2 separate regions of the Homo sapiens genome follow, and region 2 is linked to region 1. Evidence: promoter capture Hi-C in 16 types of primary human blood cells and fetal thymus (Javierre and others, 2016). All regions are on one chromosome and are shown on one strand. The core of a region is centred on a gene start or on the middle of the fragment in contact, and the rest is flanking DNA. Distances in the headings are between cores, read along the strand shown.

The links. The method cuts DNA at HindIII sites, captures the fragments that hold promoters and counts their contacts. A CHiCAGO score of 5 or more calls a contact.
Region 2: a fragment that was not itself captured here is called in contact with the fragment with the promoter of ZNF32 in region 1 in 1 of 17 cell types (neutrophils); the score reaches 5.4 in neutrophils.

What each region holds. Positions count from the first base shown.
Region 1 is chr10:43,647,614-43,650,931 of GRCh38, forward strand. ZNF32 (zinc finger protein 32) reads right to left here and starts at 1,268. Exons shown (of 3, transcript NM_006973.3): 1 at 1,189-1,268. All of the region lies in intron 1 of ZNF32-AS3 (ZNF32 antisense RNA 3), which reads left to right. ZNF32-AS2 (ZNF32 antisense RNA 2) reads left to right here. Exons shown (of 3, transcript NR_047558.1): 3 at 1-406. RefSeq lists a silencer at 774-1,293. The HindIII fragment of the contact is 4,172 bases long and covers 433-3,318 here.
Region 2 is chr10:44,827,516-44,830,566 of GRCh38, forward strand. The region is part of intron 4 of TMEM72-AS1 (TMEM72 antisense RNA 1); the gene reads right to left. Among named protein-coding and RNA genes, the nearest start is that of TMEM72, 82 kb to the right of the region's middle. RefSeq lists an enhancer at 1,672-2,535. The HindIII fragment of the contact is 4,928 bases long and covers 1-3,051 here.

The DNA of each region.
Region 1 (3,318 bases), core at 18-2,517:
TGACCAGGAGAATCATTTAAATTTTTATTTGGAGGACTCACTTCCAACTTGGAACACAAGCTGCAAAGGAATTCCCTACCAGCATGCCAGCACATCATTTGGAAGTTCAAGGTATTCTTGCTCAACAGCTGCACACACATTAAAAGTCCCTGGGGTACATGGCGCCTGCTGCCTGGGGTTGGACTCTGTCGCCGGGGATTCCAGAAATTAGAGTAGAATTCACAGCTCTGCCTCTCCACCTGCTGTGAGGTCTTCAAGTTACAACTCCGCCGCCTATCAGGGACCTCCGTGATTAGTAAGGGAGAAATTGTCATATTTTTCTCCCTAGATCACAGGTCTGAGGAAGCAGTTTCCCCAAGATTTTGTAAAAGTGGCTTTATAATTAAAAACATTGATTTTCCTATTAGAAAGGCTACTATATCCTTTGGAAAAAGCTTAGAAGTAGTCCGTGAGTCTTGGCTTCTTGCCGTGGCTCCCCCAGGATATGATCTTGGGCGAGTAACCCAGCAGCCCTGACTCTGCTTCCCCACTTATTAAACAGGTTACTAACACTGTCCTATCAGGTAGGACAATGAGAAGGAAAGAACCAAACAAGAGGAGTATCAGACGAGACCACCAGACTTAAGATCTAAAATCCGGCGTCCTCTGGAGGGCGGATGAGAAGAGGGGTACACTTGGCGGTCTGGAAAATGTCCTGGGGCCAGTTTCAGGTTTAGGAGCTTGTGGGTAGCGTGGTTTCCCACACGCTGCCTGGCTTCCTACTCTCCCCCGCAGGGGCTGCCTCTCCTCCCACCCCGGAAGGCCGGCACCGGCTTCCCGCACTCGCTGAAGCCCGCACGGAGGCCGGGTGAGCCTGCCGCGGCCTCCCCCTCCCACGCCCCGACGCCATGGGCCCTGCTCCTCTCCGCAGACGCTGCCCTCCCGCCTCAGGCCCCGGGCCCCGGGCACCGGGCCCGCCCTGCGTCCTGAACCTCGGCATCCCGCTCTCCGGTCCACGGGACCCTGCTCTGCGGACCGCCGACCTCTCCGCTCGCGGCTGGCCTCCCTCGGGGCCCGGGCCGGCCAGGCCTGCTCATTTCCTTGGCGGCCGCTGGCATAAGGCGGCCACACGGAGGGCCCGGGACAGCGGTCTGATGGCGCAGCCCCGCCTTGCCCCGGCGCTCTGACCCGGCCAGCGGCCTCACTCACCGCAGCGGCGCGTGCCCGCAGACAAAGGCCGGCGCCGAGCCCGCAGCAGCGCCAGCGCCGGCGCCGGCGGAATGGACTACAACTCCCAGGAGTCTCCCCGCGAGCCCGCCCGCCGGGCCGTGGGTCTCGGCGGCCCCGGCTTCCCAAGAGCTCTGTGGGAAATGTAGTTCTCTGGCGCGCCCTGCGCTCGGGCCCCGCAGGTCCCTAGGGCGCGGGGACCTCAAGCCGTCCCGTTTGGACTGGTAATCCGGAGACTCACAGCGGTGACCTGTCAGCGGACGCGGAGCCGGGACGGAGCCACGGCCGCTCAGATTAGCAGGATCTGATTGACAGCATCGGGGTAGCAGACGCTGAGCCAGGGACTCAGGAATACAGGGTTCTTGCAGGGCGTCGCGGAAGGAAACGAAGTTTTTGGGAGAAATCCGTTTGATAAAGCCTTGGCGGCTTCGAGGTCATGTGTTGAGCCTCTGGCTGCATGAACAAAAGCGAAGCCCGCTTTCATGGAGCTTCTGTGAAGAGCAACAGGAACACAGGCAGTCCAGTCGTCCTGAGATACTGGGAGGAGCATGGTTGCTTTTGAACACGTAGGAGATAAAGCCTCTCTAATAATGCCTGTTTTTTTTTTTCCTTCACTCTGTCTCCCAGGCTTGAGTGCAGTGGCACGGTGTCGCCTCACTGCAACCTCCGCCTTCTGGGCTCAAGTGATTCTCCTGCCCCAGCCTCCCAAGTAGCTGGGACTACAGGTCTGTGCCACCATGCCTGGCTAATTTTTTTGTATTTTTAGTAGAGATGAAGGTTTTACCATGTTGGCCAGGCTGTCTGATATGCCTTAAGCCTCTTTTAAACGCACTTTTCCAGGATCGGGGCCACATCCTGGAGCTGTTCTGCCTGGCCGGGTGTATCTCTGGGTCCCTGCCTCTGGAGCCCCTCTCCGTAGATGTGTCTGTCCATCCTCTTTCGTGAAGGACTAATAAAGAATGCTTCCTCTTGCTATGTTCTTGTTCTCTACCCCAAAGCCACAGATTTGTTAAATCAAACAACTTAATTTCACTCAATATGCAAAGGTGTCTGTAAGTAATAAGTTGATTCCTAAATGTTAGCTTTTACTATTGCACATCATTTCTGAATTTCATTCAACATTTATCCGTTGAATCCATTTTAAGTGCTGACACTGGGGATACGAATGTGAGCAAGACACACTCCGTGCTCCTAGGGAGGAGCTGACAGTCTGGTGGAGCAAACAAACACCACCTTCCTCACATGGGGGTCGGGGTGTTGCACAGCTAAGTCCCAGAGTGTGTGGTGCAAACTGTCCTGAAGCTCCCCATTCCTGAACTGCCCCAGGTGGCTCCTCTCCTCACTCCTCCCAAGTCTGAGAAAGGGGTGGAGGGCGGCACACAGCAAAGGCCAAGGCTCAGAGTCCTAAGGCTGCGGCCTCTGCTTCACACAAGGGTACATAGGTTCTGTTAAGGTCAAGACCGGCTGTGGACACTAGGACAAGTTTCAGATCCTGCCGTGAAGGTACATGACAAAGCATTGGTGGGAAAAGGTGGCTGTGAGGGGGGACCATCGTCACTTTTATAGATCTGCATAAATTCCCTTAAGGCGTCTCAGGAAAGTGGACACATTGAAGGGCCCAAAGCAGGGGAGAAAGCTGTTAGGATTGGGGTTGATGTGACCCCAGCCTCCATAGACAGACTGCCCAGCTGCAAAATGGGGCACATCCTCACCCACCACCTGCATCTTAAGGCAAATACTCAACAAAAGGGAGGGTGTGGGGTGAGGGTGAAAGGGAAATCATCCGCAGTGTAGATTTGAAAAATTACCAAAGAACAATTTCCTCACTTTGCAGGCATTTCAAAATATTAGGGGAAGGACAGATAATTCAATAAATGGTGTTATGACAAGGGCTAGACATTGGTGGGGTCGGGGAGTTGAATGTTTACCTAACTCCCATGCCAAGAGAACCTCCAGATGGATTAATGTAAAATGGGAAACACAGAGCCACAAAGGCCCAGAAGAACACATGGATTAATCTTCTTATAATCTTGTCATAGGGAAGGCTTTCATTTTTGTTTTTTTTTTGAGATGGAGTCTCACTCAGTCGCCCAGGCTGGAGTGCAGTGGCGC
Region 2 (3,051 bases), core at 487-2,986, 1.2 Mb after region 1:
GGACTGACAGGGTGATGCCACAGAGATGAGCAGCAGGGACCCAGCTCAGCACTCTCCCTTCCGGGCAGAGCTGTGTCCTCCCGCGAGTGCGTCGGGGCAGAAGCCACAGAGTCCACGTGGGGTCCCTCTAGAGTCTGCACCTGTGAAAACAACTGCACCTCCCTCATCCTCCATGTGCGTGCCTGACAGGGCCTGGCTCTCTGGCCAGGGGCCAGGGGGAGCTGCCCAGAGACGGCCCTTCAACACAAGAGCAGCAGGAGTCAAGCAGGAAACCCGGAGAGCCACTCCCTGAGGAGGAGCAGCCCCAAGGGATTGTGGGGGGCCAGTGTCAGCTTGGCCTCAGACATCCCAGCACGGGTGCAGAGGAGCACAGCACTGTAGTCCCCCCAGCTCAGTCGCTGTCCCTGCTGCCTGACCCAGCTGCCCAGCCTCTTTGTCACTGGTCACATGATTCTTTCACAAAACAAGTAGAACAAGGCATGGTTGTATGAATTTCTAGCTCCCTACCCTCCAGCCTGGGTAGGTCAGGGCACCTGTCTGAACCTCCATTGCTCATCCCATTCAACAAATGTTTGAGCAATCATTTGATGGCAGGTCTTGCGGAAGATATGGCTTATAGAACACGAAGCACATGTTTCTTTTGCAATTGCAGCACATCTTACATGTATGTAAAAAGTAGCTCAATTAAACAGATGAGTGTTAATATTCAAAGATGAGGAAACACATTCTCTACATTGCTGATGGTGTTTATGTCTGCAAAGGGAATTCGGATTGGGAGGATGGATGGAAATTAGAGCTTGGAATCCACAATCAGACCAACACAGGCCTTTGGCGGCTGGGAAGAGGGTCGGGTGCCCTGATCTTCAGGGCCTCCAGCGCTGGGTTCGGGGTTCCTGACCAGGATCCTGAAGCTCCACCAGCTCGACAGCCTTGCAGAAAACAACAAGGGGGGCTCGGGCCTCTGTAAATATCTGTTCTTTTTCTGCTCACAGTCTCCACAGGAGGGGATGGGGCTGCATTTAGCTGCTAAAGCCTCTTCCTCTGTAAGTAGGATATTAAGGGATGGAGTCCAGCTAGATAAATAAACCAAGTCCCTGAGGCGAGACCCTTGCTGCCCCCGTAGACCGGAGAAAGTTCCCATAGTCGGACTCCGAGCCAGCAGCTGAAGGGCCTCCTCATGTTTCAGGATTCGGGAGAGGAGGGGCCACGAGGGATCAGCTGTGGATCACATCCCAAACGCCGCTCCTCTCTGGGCTAACACCGCTGGGCCTGGGGATCCTCGTGTGCGGAGGAGGACGAAAGTGTGCCGGCAGCTGGCTGGATCCTGGAAAATGCAGAGGGGAGGGGAGGGCCTGTGGGGACCCTAAAGGCCCCAAGGAGAGGCTGCGGGAAGGCCAAAGGCTGGCGCTCTTATTCCCAGGCATGCCAAGCCCCTGGCTCACACAGGCCTGTGGGGCTCAGTAAAGGACACAACACAACCCTTCTCTGGGCTCCTGGCTGTCTGGCGGGGGAAAAGAGTTGGAAAAAGAAGGCCCATATATCTTAAAATGATAAAAAGTGATGGCCACATACATTGTCAGATGCCTATGTCATTGTCACTTAAGGCATTATGGGGACAGATGGCAAGACAAGCACCATGCAATAATGAGTTCCAACCTGAGTTCTCCTGCTCTGCTAAGGGGTCCTGCGCGCTGGGTAGAGGCCAGGGAGACAGTGTTGATCCACAGACCTGGGAGGAAGAAGTCACCAGGCTCTGTGAGGATCAGCAGAAACCAAGCAGACATCCCACTGCACTGCCCAGGAACCTGGTGGGCATCACACATTTGGAAATACTTTTAGGGAAAGGGGGCAGAAGACAAAGGGGAGCAGTAAAGCAAGTAAGAGTGTCTGTCCAAAAGTCACCAAGAGCAGCTTACAAATCCTGTTCACAGGCGCTCTTGCCTAGACGCCCCTTCCCGGGTCCCAGCGCTTCAGCGCAGCCAGTGTCTTTCCTGTCTTTCCACTCTGAGTCCTCAGGCCAGGCCAGCTCCATGTCCGGGTGCCTTAGCACAGCCTTTGCCCCCAGCCGTGGGGTTGGGAGGCTTCACACCACTCGCTCCAGCCTGCTCCGGGTGTGAAGGCAGCACCTACATGCAGTCCTAACCCTCACCCTGCCTGGAGCACAGAGCCCCAGGTGAATGCTGGCTGGAAGGATTAGTACACTCATCATGTAGGACAAGAATACTATCCCCATTTTTGGACAAATAAACTGAGGTTTTGATTTTTTTGTGTATGTAATTATAAGAGTAAACTGGGAGTAGTTCCAGAGCTGCTTATTCTAAATCTCTCACACACTACCTTCTCAAAGTTAAGTGGAGGCACTGCCTTGATTGTTTCAGCAGGCCCACTCGAAAGTTGCCGGTGAAGGGATGTTCTGGTACTGAATTGAAAGGGAGACAACAAAAGGAGCCAGTGGCCAGTGAGAACACCTCAGAGGGTGTCCACACACCAGCCCCCCTGCTCTCTCCACCACAGGAGCGTTTAGCATTTGCAAATGTGAGTGGAGAGCCTCAAGATTTCGCCGAACTTGGAAAGCATCAGAGAAGAACTACTAATATCTCCATTCACTATGTGCTAAGCACCCTTTGATACACATTGCAGGGTTAAAAAGGTAAACCAAAGCACAGTAAAATTTTTAAAGAGTTTGAGCAAACAGGGATTCATGAATTAGGCAGCTCCAAAGAGGAAGTGGTTTGTGAGTTCCATCAAAGGAATGCAAGAAGGAGATTTCTATAATACAAACAGGGAAGTCAAACAAAAGAAAATATTTAATTGATTATGGATATGCAATTGGCTTATTGAGTCTATCCCACTGAAAAAACCTCTAGTTACATACAAGCATACCTTGGAGACATTGCGGGTTCAGTGACAAACTACTGTCTGCAAATACTGCAAATATCACAATCAAGTGTGTCACATGTTTTTTGTTTCCCACTGAATACCAGTTATGTTTATAGTATACTATAGTCTATGAAGTGTACAATAGCATTATGTCTAAAAAAGCAGTGCACA